3 separate regions of the Homo sapiens genome follow, and regions 2 and 3 are each linked to region 1. The links are contacts of gene promoters, found by promoter capture Hi-C in blood cells and fetal thymus (Javierre and others, 2016). All regions are on one chromosome and are shown on one strand. The core of a region is centred on a gene start or on the middle of the fragment in contact, and the rest is flanking DNA. Distances in the headings are between cores, read along the strand shown.

The links. The method cuts DNA at HindIII sites, captures the fragments that hold promoters and counts their contacts. A CHiCAGO score of 5 or more calls a contact.
Region 2: a fragment that was not itself captured here is called in contact with the fragment with the promoter of TTR in region 1 in 1 of 17 cell types (M1 macrophages); the score reaches 5.4 in M1 macrophages.
Region 3: a fragment that was not itself captured here is called in contact with the fragment with the promoter of TTR in region 1 in 3 of 17 cell types (megakaryocytes, fetal thymus and M1 macrophages); the score reaches 7.5 in megakaryocytes.

Annotation. Positions count from the first base shown.
Region 1 is chr18:31,589,280-31,593,126 of GRCh38, forward strand. TTR (transthyretin) reads left to right here and starts at 2,598. Exons shown (of 4, transcript NM_000371.4): 1 at 2,598-2,692; 2 at 3,617-3,747. The coding sequence starts at 2,624. The HindIII fragment of the contact is 4,728 bases long and covers 2,018-3,847 here.
Region 2 is chr18:31,823,442-31,827,288 of GRCh38, forward strand. No RefSeq gene overlaps it. Among named protein-coding and RNA genes, the nearest start is that of SLC25A52, 64 kb to the left of the region's middle. RefSeq lists enhancers at 2,327-2,872, 2,873-3,418, 3,419-3,847. The HindIII fragment of the contact is 3,609 bases long and covers 296-3,847 here.
Region 3 is chr18:31,733,520-31,737,366 of GRCh38, forward strand. No RefSeq gene overlaps it. Among named protein-coding and RNA genes, the nearest start is that of SLC25A52, 25 kb to the right of the region's middle. The HindIII fragment of the contact is 1,897 bases long and covers 1,021-2,917 here.

The sequences.
Region 1 (3,847 bases), core at 1,348-3,847:
AGGAAGTTCGGGATGCTGAGGATCTTAGGAACTATGTCTAAACAAGATTCATTCACAGAAGTGGGAATGTCTATTTGGCAAAAAGAAAATACTACTTACATGGCTGTTGGAAGACCAGCAATCACAAACTCAGTTTTTCAAAAGGCTGGGCAGAAACACAGATGAAAGAAACAGGCCATGTTTAAGAAAAGATAAAAGCTCACGCATGATATGCCACTAGAGAATCACCTAGCCTCAGTGTTGGCGGGGAGGCCTGGGGAGTCTTGATGTCTGAGAGTGACATTCTGATGATCACTGTCATGTGTAAATGTTGGCCTAAAGCTGCCAATATTTTTGATTTAAGAGAAGCAAGAAATGCAAATTTTTATGCAGCATGTCTCAATTTTTAATTTTGGCAACTATTACAAAATGTTTAAAGAGACTCTGTGCAGCCCAAATATAACATATCTATGGGCTGATGGCAGCCCAGCGTTGCCAGTTCACAGGGTCTACAAGAGATGATTCTTAGTTTCAACAGGGTGCAGTGCTGAAACGCGTGCACAGTAGATTTTGCTTCGGTTATGAAAGAACTTCCAAATATTTATGATTCATAGCCAGAGAAAAGGCTCTCTATCCAGGTTCTGAACAATAGGAAATCATCAAGAGGATATTGGATGACAATATATGAAAGATGTTATTTGAGAAAGGATTCTCTCCTGAGGCATAGATGTTGAACCAAATTCTATTAGTTATGCTTTTACAGCAAGATAGTGGTTTACAGCTTACAAAAGGCTTGTACATCCTCTCATATTAAAAGTTATTAGAACAGTCCTTTGAAGTAGAAAAGTAGGCATTTCTATTTTACAAACGAGTTGGCCGAGTATCTGAGATAGTAGATAACTCATAGAAGGTCATCCGGGAAACGGGGCAGCAGAACTGGGATCGAATGACTCTGGTCATCCAACTCCAAATGCAAAAGTCTTTCTGCTGCTGCTTCCTAGTTAAACTCTAAGGGTCTAAGACTCCATTCCTAGTTATGGTCTCAACTACATTTGCTCATTGCTGTGAGGGGTCAACCCACCTCCCGGAGTCCTCTCCTGCACATTCTCATGTTCCTGAAAGGCTTTTCTGTCCCTTCCACTACTCCCTGTAAGCTCCTGTGCTTCACAATTTCTTGTTGAATTTTTTCTAATCTGACTCTATCAGTTATGGGAATGTTCCCTCAATTCTTAGTGCTCCAAACCGGACTTGCTCTTGGCTTGTATTTGTCCAAAATATTTGTCTTCTCTATGTTTTCTACATGTTTGTCTTATAAGGACAAAAACCTGCCTTAGTTTATCCATGAACAAAGCCACGCATGCTAGTGGACACACACACACATGCGCGTGCGCGCGCACACACACACACACACACATACACACAGAGACTTTGTATGTGAGTAATGAATCATCAAATCATCATAATTTCTGGACTTGTATTAATAAGTCGGCCAGGAGGAAAAGAATCTGCTGTCAATCATGGCTTCTGGTTCTCACAGTCATCTCTACTTTCTTCCAGCAAGTTTGGTTCTGTCAAAAACCAGCTGTCAGCCTTGTTCCTGCATGCCCAATGCAGAAGAGTCAGTAAAGAAGATTTGGTTCTCTGTATTTCAGGGGCATCAATGCCAGGTTGAAATATGCCATTCTGGCCCAGCTCAGTGGCTCACACGTGTAATCCCAGCACTTTGGAAGGCCAAAGCGGGTGGATTGCTTGAGCTCAGGAGTTCGAGACCAGCCTGGGCAAGAGGCTGAGGTGGGAGGATGACCTGAGCCCGGGAGGTCAAGGCTGCAGCGAGCTGTGATCGTGCCACTGCACTCGAGCCAGGGCGTTGGAGTGAGACCCTGTCAAAAAAAAAAAAAAAAAGGAAGGAAAAAAGGAAGGAAGGAAGGGAGGGAGGGAAGATGCCATTCTTAGATTGAAGTGGACTTTATCTGGGCAGAACACACACACACATACACACATGCACACACACATTGTGGAGAAATTGCTGACTAAGCAAAGCTTCCAAATGACTTAGTTTGGCTAAAATGTAGGCTTTTAAAAATGTGAGCACTGCCAAGGGTTTTTCCTTGTTGACCCATGGATCCATCAAGTGCAAACATTTTCTAATGCACTATATTTAAGCCTGTGCAGCTAGATGTCATTCAACATGAAATACATTATTACAACTTGCATCTGTCTAAAATCTTGCATCTAAAATGAGAGACAAAAAATCTATAAAAATGGAAAACATGCATAGAAATATGTGAGGGAGGAAAAAATTACCCCCAAGAATGTTAGTGCACGCAGTCACACAGGGAGAAGACTATTTTTGTTTTGTTTTGATTGTTTTGTTTTGTTTTGGTTGTTTTGTTTTGGTGACCTAACTGGTCAAATGACCTATTAAGAATATTTCATAGAACGAATGTTCCGATGCTCTAATCTCTCTAGACAAGGTTCATATTTGTATGGGTTACTTATTCTCTCTTTGTTGACTAAGTCAATAATCAGAATCAGCAGGTTTGCAGTCAGATTGGCAGGGATAAGCAGCCTAGCTCAGGAGAAGTGAGTATAAAAGCCCCAGGCTGGGAGCAGCCATCACAGAAGTCCACTCATTCTTGGCAGGATGGCTTCTCATCGTCTGCTCCTCCTCTGCCTTGCTGGACTGGTATTTGTGTCTGAGGCTGGCCCTACGGTGAGTGTTTCTGTGACATCCCATTCCTACATTTAAGATTCACGCTAAATGAAGTAGAAGTGACTCCTTCCAGCTTTGCCAACCAGCTTTTATTACTAGGGCAAGGGTACCCAGCATCTATTTTTAATATAATTAATTCAAACTTCAAAAAGAATGAAGTTCCACTGAGCTTACTGAGCTGGGACTTGAACTCTGAGCATTCTACCTCATTGCTTTGGTGCATTAGGTTTGTAATATCTGGTACCTCTGTTTCCTCAGATAGATGATAGAAATAAAGATATGATATTAAGGAAGCTGTTAATACTGAATTTTCAGAAAAGTATCCCTCCATAAAATGTATTTGGGGGACAAACTGCAGGAGATTATATTCTGGCCCTATAGTTATTCAAAACGTATTTATTGATTAATCTTTAAAAGGCTTAGTGAACAATATTCTAGTCAGATATCTAATTCTTAAATCCTCTAGAAGAATTAACTAATACTATAAAATGGGTCTGGATGTAGTTCTGACATTATTTTATAACAACTGGTAAGAGGGAGTGACTATAGCAACAACTAAAATGATCTCAGGAAAACCTGTTTGGCCCTATGTATGGTACATTACATCTTTTCAGTAATTCCACTCAAATGGAGACTTTTAACAAAGCAACTGTTCTCAGGGGACCTATTTTCTCCCTTAAAATTCATTATACACATCCCTGGTTGATAGCAGTGTGTCTGGAGGCAGAAACCATTCTTGCTTTGGAAACAATTACGTCTGTGTTATACTGAGTAGGGAAGCTCATTAATTGTCGACACTTACGTTCCTGATAATGGGATCAGTGTGTAATTCTTGTTTCGCTCCAGATTTCTAATACCACAAAGAATAAATCCTTTCACTCTGATCAATTTTGTTAACTTCTCACGTGTCTTCTCTACACCCAGGGCACCGGTGAATCCAAGTGTCCTCTGATGGTCAAAGTTCTAGATGCTGTCCGAGGCAGTCCTGCCATCAATGTGGCCGTGCATGTGTTCAGAAAGGCTGCTGATGACACCTGGGAGCCATTTGCCTCTGGGTAAGTTGCCAAAGAACCCTCCCACAGGACTTGGTTTTATCTTCCCGTTTGCCCCTCACTTGGTAGAGAGAGGCTCACATCATCTGCTAAAGAATTTACA
Region 2 (3,847 bases), core at 850-3,349, 230 kb after region 1:
CAAACTCTGTAAAATATTTAAAGCTGTTTATTTCCAGCTAATATGCGTGACTGTGGCCCTAGGGATAGTCTCGGGAGGTCCTGAGAAAGGGTGCCGGAGGCAGTAGGGTTACAGTTTGGTTTTATACATTTTGGGGAGACAGAAGTTACAGGCAAAGACATAAATCAATACATGGAATACATAAATTATATATACATTGGTTCAGCCCAGAAAGGCAGAACATCTTGAAGTGGGGGCCTCACGGGTTATAGGTGGATTCAAAGATTTTCTGATTGGCATTTGGTTGAAGGAGTTAAGCTTTGTCTAAAGATTTGAAGTCAGTAGGAAGAAATAGTTAAGGTAAGGAGGGTTGTGGAAGCCAAGGTTCTTTTATGTAGATGAAGCCTCCAGGCAGCCGACTTCAGACAGAACAGATGATAAATGTCTCTTTTCAGACCTTAAAATGTGTCAGGCTCTTAGTTAATCTCTCCTATATCTGAGAAAGGCCTGGCTGTAATAATGAAGATTTTCTATGGATGCAAACTTCCCCTACAAAAGACACCTTTGCAGGGCCATTTAAAAATATGTCAAAGAAATATATTTTGATGTAAAATGTTTTTATTTCCCTCATGGTCTGCTGTCATGGGATGCTATACCAGTCAGATTGCAATTTGGTACCGTATTGCCAGAGGCTGTTTTGTCAGTCTTGTGTTCTCTAATTTAATGTTAATGCTGGTCAGCTATGTCTGAACTCCAAAAGAGAGGAGGTATAACAAGGTGTGTTTGACTTCCCTTCCTGTCATGGCCTGGAATTTAGTTTTTCAGGAGTTTCTGGGATCCCCTTGGCCAAGCCTAAAAGTCTGTTCAGTCGGTTGGGGGCTTAGAATTTTATTTTTGATTTATAACTTTAAGGAGATATGAGTGGTGTTCAAACTAGGTGTTTGACCAGAGATATTGTACAAACTCCTACATGCTTGGATGAAGTGGCTTAAGAATCTAGTTAGGGGCCGGGTGCAGTGGCTCATGCCTGTAATTCCAGCACTTAGGGAGGCTGAGGCAGGTGGATCAATTGAGGCCAGGAGTTTGAGACCAACATGGCCAACATGGTGAAATCCTGTCTCTATTAAAAATGCAAAAATTAGCCAGGCGTGGTGGTATGCACCTGTAGCCCCAGCTACTTGGGAGGCTGAGGTGGGAGGATCTCATGAGCCCAGGAGGCAAAGGTTGCATTGAGGCAAGATCACAGCACTGCACTCCACTCTGGGCGACACAGTGAGACCCTGTCTTAAAAAAAAAAAAAAAAAAATCTAGTTAGGCCAGTAGCCCATACCTGTCAGAGGAACTTGAACCAGAGAGACTCCATTTTGAGTGAGGTTTAGGAAAATGAGGCTGAGACTGGCTAGGCCGCATTCTCAGAAAAAACAGGCATTCCTAGCCTCTAGACATTTACAGTTAAGGGAACAAATTAATAATGCTTACTAAAACAGACCCAGACTTGGGAATGTCCCGATATCCTGATGTCTGGAGAACAAAGACATTCCTAATTTTGCTTTAAAGATGATAATAACGATTCTTGCAAAATATAGTAATTAAGAAAATTAATTCTTTAACACAAACCCTTGTGGCAGAACACATCTCCCCACATATACAAGCATTGTACCTAGGATGGATGTGTTCCTCCTCTTACTTTCGGGAACGTCCTACTCTATGTATGGAGTAGCTGTCCTTTCACTTTACTTTCCTAACAAACTCCCTTTTGCTTTGCACTGTGGACTTGCCCTGAATTCTTTCTTGGGAGAGATCCAAGAATCCTCTCTTGGAGTCTGGATCGGAACCCTTTTCCTGTAACATACCCATTGGAGTGGCATGCTCCACCCAAGGCTAAAATTCAGTCCTGGTTCTGGTCACTAAGCTATCAGAGGGTTCTGTCCCTTGATTCCTTGTTGTCCATCATATCCGAATTGAGTGACCCCTTCTGCCAAAAGGTAGGGAATTGGAATTTCCCCAAGCATCTAAGTAATCATATGATTGCCTTGTTAATATGAAGTATTTGTATATGTGGCCAAACTCATTGTAACATACTAGTGGGTAGACAGCCTGAGAGGAGGAGAGCTGTAGTGGATGTGAATACACATCCCAGTGTTAGTGATACAGCACTGATGAGTGGAGGAACACCAGGGCTCTTGTCTCACGCGAATTAGATGAAATGACAGACACACGTGGAGTGGTTTTTAAGGAGTGAAGACTTTAATAAGCAAGAAAGAAGGGAGAAAACAGAGGGAAGAAGCTCCCCCGTATAGAGACAGAGGGAGGGGGACTCCAAAGCCGAGAGAGGAGACCCCCAAGTGCGGTGGATACCAGCCAGTTATATGAGGAGGCTGAAGGAGGCAGTGTCTGATTTGCATAGGGCTCAAGGGATTGGTTTGACCAGGCATGTCATTCATGTAGCCCACAAAAACTGGCCCTCCCACCCTAGCCTTTTAATATGCAAATGAAGGGCACCGTGATGTTCTACACACATGGGGATATGTGGGGGTGGCCACATTGCCAGGCACATGGGAGCAAGGGCAAGAGAACAACGGTGGGAATCACCATGTTTGGGGGGATCCAGTTTCTAATGGACTGTATTTGCATATCAAAGGTTGGCAGCCCAGCTGTAAGACCTGGGGCTTTCCTGCTAGATGAGAAAGGTTTCTGGAGCTACTTTAAAAGAAACAACTTAGCTGCTTTAAAAGAAACAACTTTCGTGGCTGGGGGAGGGATAGCATTAGGAGAAATACCTAATGTAAATGGTGAGTTGATGGGTGCAGTTAACCAACATGATACATGTATGCCTATGTAACAAACCTGCACGTTGTGCACATGTACCTTAGAACTTAAAAGTATAATAATAAAAAAAGAAACAACTTTCCAAGGACCCCTTTTCCTATCTGCCTGAAATAATTTATTAATAACTCCTACCACATGAGGCTCGGAATATGATACCCCGAAATATGGCCCTTTGACATGCTGAACTAAAGCAGCAGCCTCAAGGTCTTTCTACCTCCCACCTCCACACTGACTCTACCCCAGCCCTATTTCTCCTAAAGCACAGGATAAGGTTTTTCTCTGATAGTCCTTTATCTACCTTAAGACTGGACTCACCAGAGGGACTGCCCCCTCTTCCCTCTCTGAAATCTCATTTTCTATCTCAGAAAAGACTGAGGAATGAAACCACACCTGGAAAGACTTTTACACAAGATAATGTTTGTCACACGCGTCCGTGTGAAGAGATCACCAAACAGGCTTTGTGTGAGCAACAAGGTTGTTTATTTCACCTGGGTGCAGGCGGGCTGAGTCCGAAAAAGGAGTCAGCGAAGGGAGATGGTGCGGGGGCAGTTTTACGGGATTTGGAAAATTACAGTCAAAGGTGTTGAGTCAAAGGGGTTGCTCTCTGGCAGGCAGGAGCAGGGGTCACAAGGTGCTCAGTGGGGGAGCTTCTGAGCCAGAAGGATTTTCACAAGGTAACGTCATCAGTTAAGGCAGGAACCAGCCATTTTCACTTCTTTTGTGATTCTTCAGTTGCTTCAGGCCATCTGGATGTATATGTGCAGGTCACAGGGGATATGATGGCTTAGCTTGGTCTCAGAGGCCTGACAATGTTTGCCTCTTGGGCTCATTGAAATTCCAGAGAGTCATTTACAAGTTACTGCCTCCAGGTCCATTCACTCCCACTAATTATCATTTACTACTCCTCAAAATTGCCACACCTCCATCTCCCTTTCTTCTATGAAGTAGTACGCATCTGGATCTCACTGGGTTACTGGGAAATTGTTCTCATGTGACTCCCCTGTGCTTAAGCAGGTTAAATAAGTTTCACATGTCTTCT
Region 3 (3,847 bases), core at 719-3,218, 140 kb after region 1:
CCGGCAAGAACAATTAGGCAAGAAAAAGAAATAAAAGGAATCCAAGTTGGAAAAAAAAGAAGTAAAATTATCTCTATTTATAGATGATACGATCACATATACAGAAAATCCTAAAGACTCCACCAAAAAAACCTGTTAAAATAGACAAATTTAGTATAGTTAAAGGATACAAAATCAACATAGAAAAATCAGCAGTATTCCTATATACTAACAACAGACTATCCAAAAAAGAGATCAAGAAAACAATCCCATTTACAGTATATCCAAAAAAAAAAAATACTTGGGAGTAAATTTAACCAAGGAGATGAAAGACCTGTACACTGAAAACTATAAAACACTGATGAAAGGATGAAGAAGACACAAATAAATGGAAAGATATCCCCATGTACATGAATTGGAAGAATTAATATTGCTAAAATGATCATTGGCACCAAAACAATCTACAGATTCAATGCAATGCCTATCAAAATTCCATGACATTTTTCCCAGAAATAGAAAGAGAATCCTATGAAACCACAAAAGACTCCAAATAGTCAAAGAAATGTTGAGCAAAAGGAAGAAAGCTGGAGGTCTCATACTACCTGATTTCAAATTATACTACAAAGCTATAGTAATCAAAACAGCGTAGTACTGGCATAAAAACAAATGCATAGACTAAAGGAATATAATAGAGACCCCAGAAATAAGTTTATGCATTTATGTTCAGTTGATCTTCAACAAAGGTACCAAGAACATACAACGTTCAAGAAAGCACAGTCTCTTCAATAATTGGTACTGGGAAAACTGGATGTCCACATGCAAAAGAAGGAACTTAGACCCTTGTCTCACCCATAAAGAAAAATCAACTCAAAATGAAATAAAGACTTAAATGTAAGTCCTGAAATTATAAAACTACTCAAAGAAAACATAAGGGAAAAGCTCCAAGACATTGGTCTGGGAGATGATATTTTGGTCATATATGACCCTTGATACACAGGCAACATAGTGAAAAGAGAGAAATGGGATTGCATCAAAATTAAAAGCTTCTGTACAGAATAGGAAACAATCAACAGAGTGAAAAGGCAACCTACCAAAGGGGAGGAAATATTTACAAACTGCATACCTGACAAGAGGTTAATATCCAAAATATATAAGGAACTGAAACAACTCAATATTAAAAAGATAAATAATTCAATTTTAAAACAGGCAAAATACCTGAATAGATATTTCTCAAAAGAAGACATTTACAAGTGGCCAACAGGTATATGAAAAAATGTTCAACATCACTAATGATCACAGAAATGTAAATTAAAACCACAAAGAGATATCACCTCACACTGGTTAGTATAGCTATCATCAAAAAGACAAAAAATAGTAAGTGTGGGTAAGGGTGTGCAGAAGACAGGACCCATGCACACTGTTGGTGGGACTGTAACTTGGCACAGCCATTATGGAAGACAGTATGGAGCTTCCTCAAAAAAGTAAAAATAGAACTACCATATGATCCAGCAATTCCATTTCTGGGTATATATTCAAAGTAAATGAAATCATTATGTCAAAGAGATATCTTCATTCCCATGTTCATTGGAGCATTATTCATGATAGCCAAGATATGGAATCAACCTAAGTGTCTGTCAAGAGATAAATGGATAAAGAAAACGGGATATATCTATGCAATGGAATACCATTCAGCCTTAAAAAAGAAGGAATTCCTGGCTGGGTGCGGTGGCTCACGTCTGTAATCCCAGCACTTTGGGAGGCCGAGGTGGGCGGATCATGAGGTCAGGAGACAGAGACCACCGGGTGAAACCCTATCTCTACTAAAAATACCAAAAATTAGCTGGGCGTGGTGGCAGGCGCCTGTAGTCCCAGCTACTTAGGAGGCTGAGGCAGGAGAATGGCATGAACCCAGGAGGCAGAGCTTGCAGTCAGCGGAGATCATGCCACTGCACTCCAGCCGGGGCGACAGAGCGAGACTCCGTCTCAAAAAAAAAAAAAAAAAAAAAAAAAAGGCAAAAAGAAGGAATTCCTGTTATTTGCAGCAACACGGATGAACCTGGAGGACATTATGCTGAGTCAAATAGGCCAGGCACAGAAAGACAAATACTGCATAATTTAACTTATATGTAGAATATAAGAAAGTTGAAATCATAGAAGTGGAGAGTAGAATGTTGGTGGCCAGATGCTGGGGCAGAGTGGGGCTGGGATGGGAATGAGGAAATGTTGGTCAAAGAGTACGAATTTTCAGTTAGACAGAGGGATGAAGTTCTGGGGATCTCTTGTACAGCATGGTGACTATAGTTAATAATAATGTATTGTCTACTTGAAAATTGCTAAGAGAATAGATTTTATAATGTTCTCACCACAAACTAAGTATGTGAAGTGATAGATATGTTAATTAGCTTGGTTTAATGGTGTCACAGTGTATACATATATCAAAATATCACATTGTATACCTTGAATATATATAACTTTATTTGTCAACTATATCTTAATGAAGCTGGGGAAAAAATCAATAAAAAGTAAACACACACACACAGGACAACTGAAGATCACTTTTTATTTTGTAGAGACAGAGTCTGGTTGTGTTGCCCAGGTTGGTTTCAATCTCCTGGCCTAAGTGATCTTCCTGCCTTGGCCTCCCAGAGTGCTGAGATTACAGGTGTGTGCCACCATGCCCAGCGGAATATCACTTTTACTTAGGAATATAGGTCAGAAATATTTTTTTAACCAGCAAATCAAATCAAACAATATATTAAATAATCAATTTAACAAAATAGGATTTAATTTAGGAATTCAAGAATAGTTCGAGCACTGGAAGAACATGATTTAATATTTTAAGAAATGGAAAGAGAATAAAAACATGATCATAATAACTGAAGCTACAAATTCAACCAGACACTTTTGCATTCTTTAAAACTCATTTAAGATAAAGAGAAGCTTCCAAACATGTTGAAGTTTATTTCCTACAAATCAATCATAAACATTTCAAATAAACACAAATTATTTTCATTAAAATAGAAAAAAGAAGAATGCTGTCTACTACCCCTAATGGTCAACAGTCATTGCAGGGAGTATAACAGATAATGTGGTAAAGTAAGAGAAATAAATATGTAGTTTAACTATGGGGAAAAGCCTGTTTGATATCCTTTTCTATTTTGATTATAAATGTGCTTAGGTTCTTCAAAAGACGTGATCTGAGAGTAGCACATATTAAGGTCATGTCTTATTACTACAGGCTGTTCCAGAAAGGCCATGGGGCTTTCTCTGTTTATGGGAACAGCTGAATATGATCAAAACTGGATGGGCCAAGTGCATAGGGCCTGTGCTGCCAAGACATGCCTTCAAAAATAGGAAGTGAAAATCCAGTCCCATGCTTACGTATCAAATATAGCATTGGCCCTCAAGTTCAAACTGCTAGAGTATACTCAAATTGCTTCATTCAGCTAATTTTGGGAGTATACTAATGACCAAAGGACACTTTACTATAAAGTGACATTTGTTAATAGAGTTCCAGACTCCAAAATGCAGTTTCCAGGATACTTGTTAACAGAACATAGGGTAACCTAATAATTCTACCACTTAGTCACAAACCTATTTAATCCAACATTTTTTCGAATTCATTTACTTAAGAAATTAGATCATTCATTACAATTAATTTGGCAAGCAAAGACAGCCAGCTGCTCAAGTGAGATCCCAAATTTTCTAACAAATTGAATAAACACTAATTTGTTTATTTGTTGATATGATTATGGAATTAGCAAAATGGCCTATTCCTCAGCATGAAAAATTCAGGTCCAAATTGTTTCATTGAGGCTTATTTCTGTTACAAGTTAAATGAAAAAGAGAATCTATTATTCACAAATTT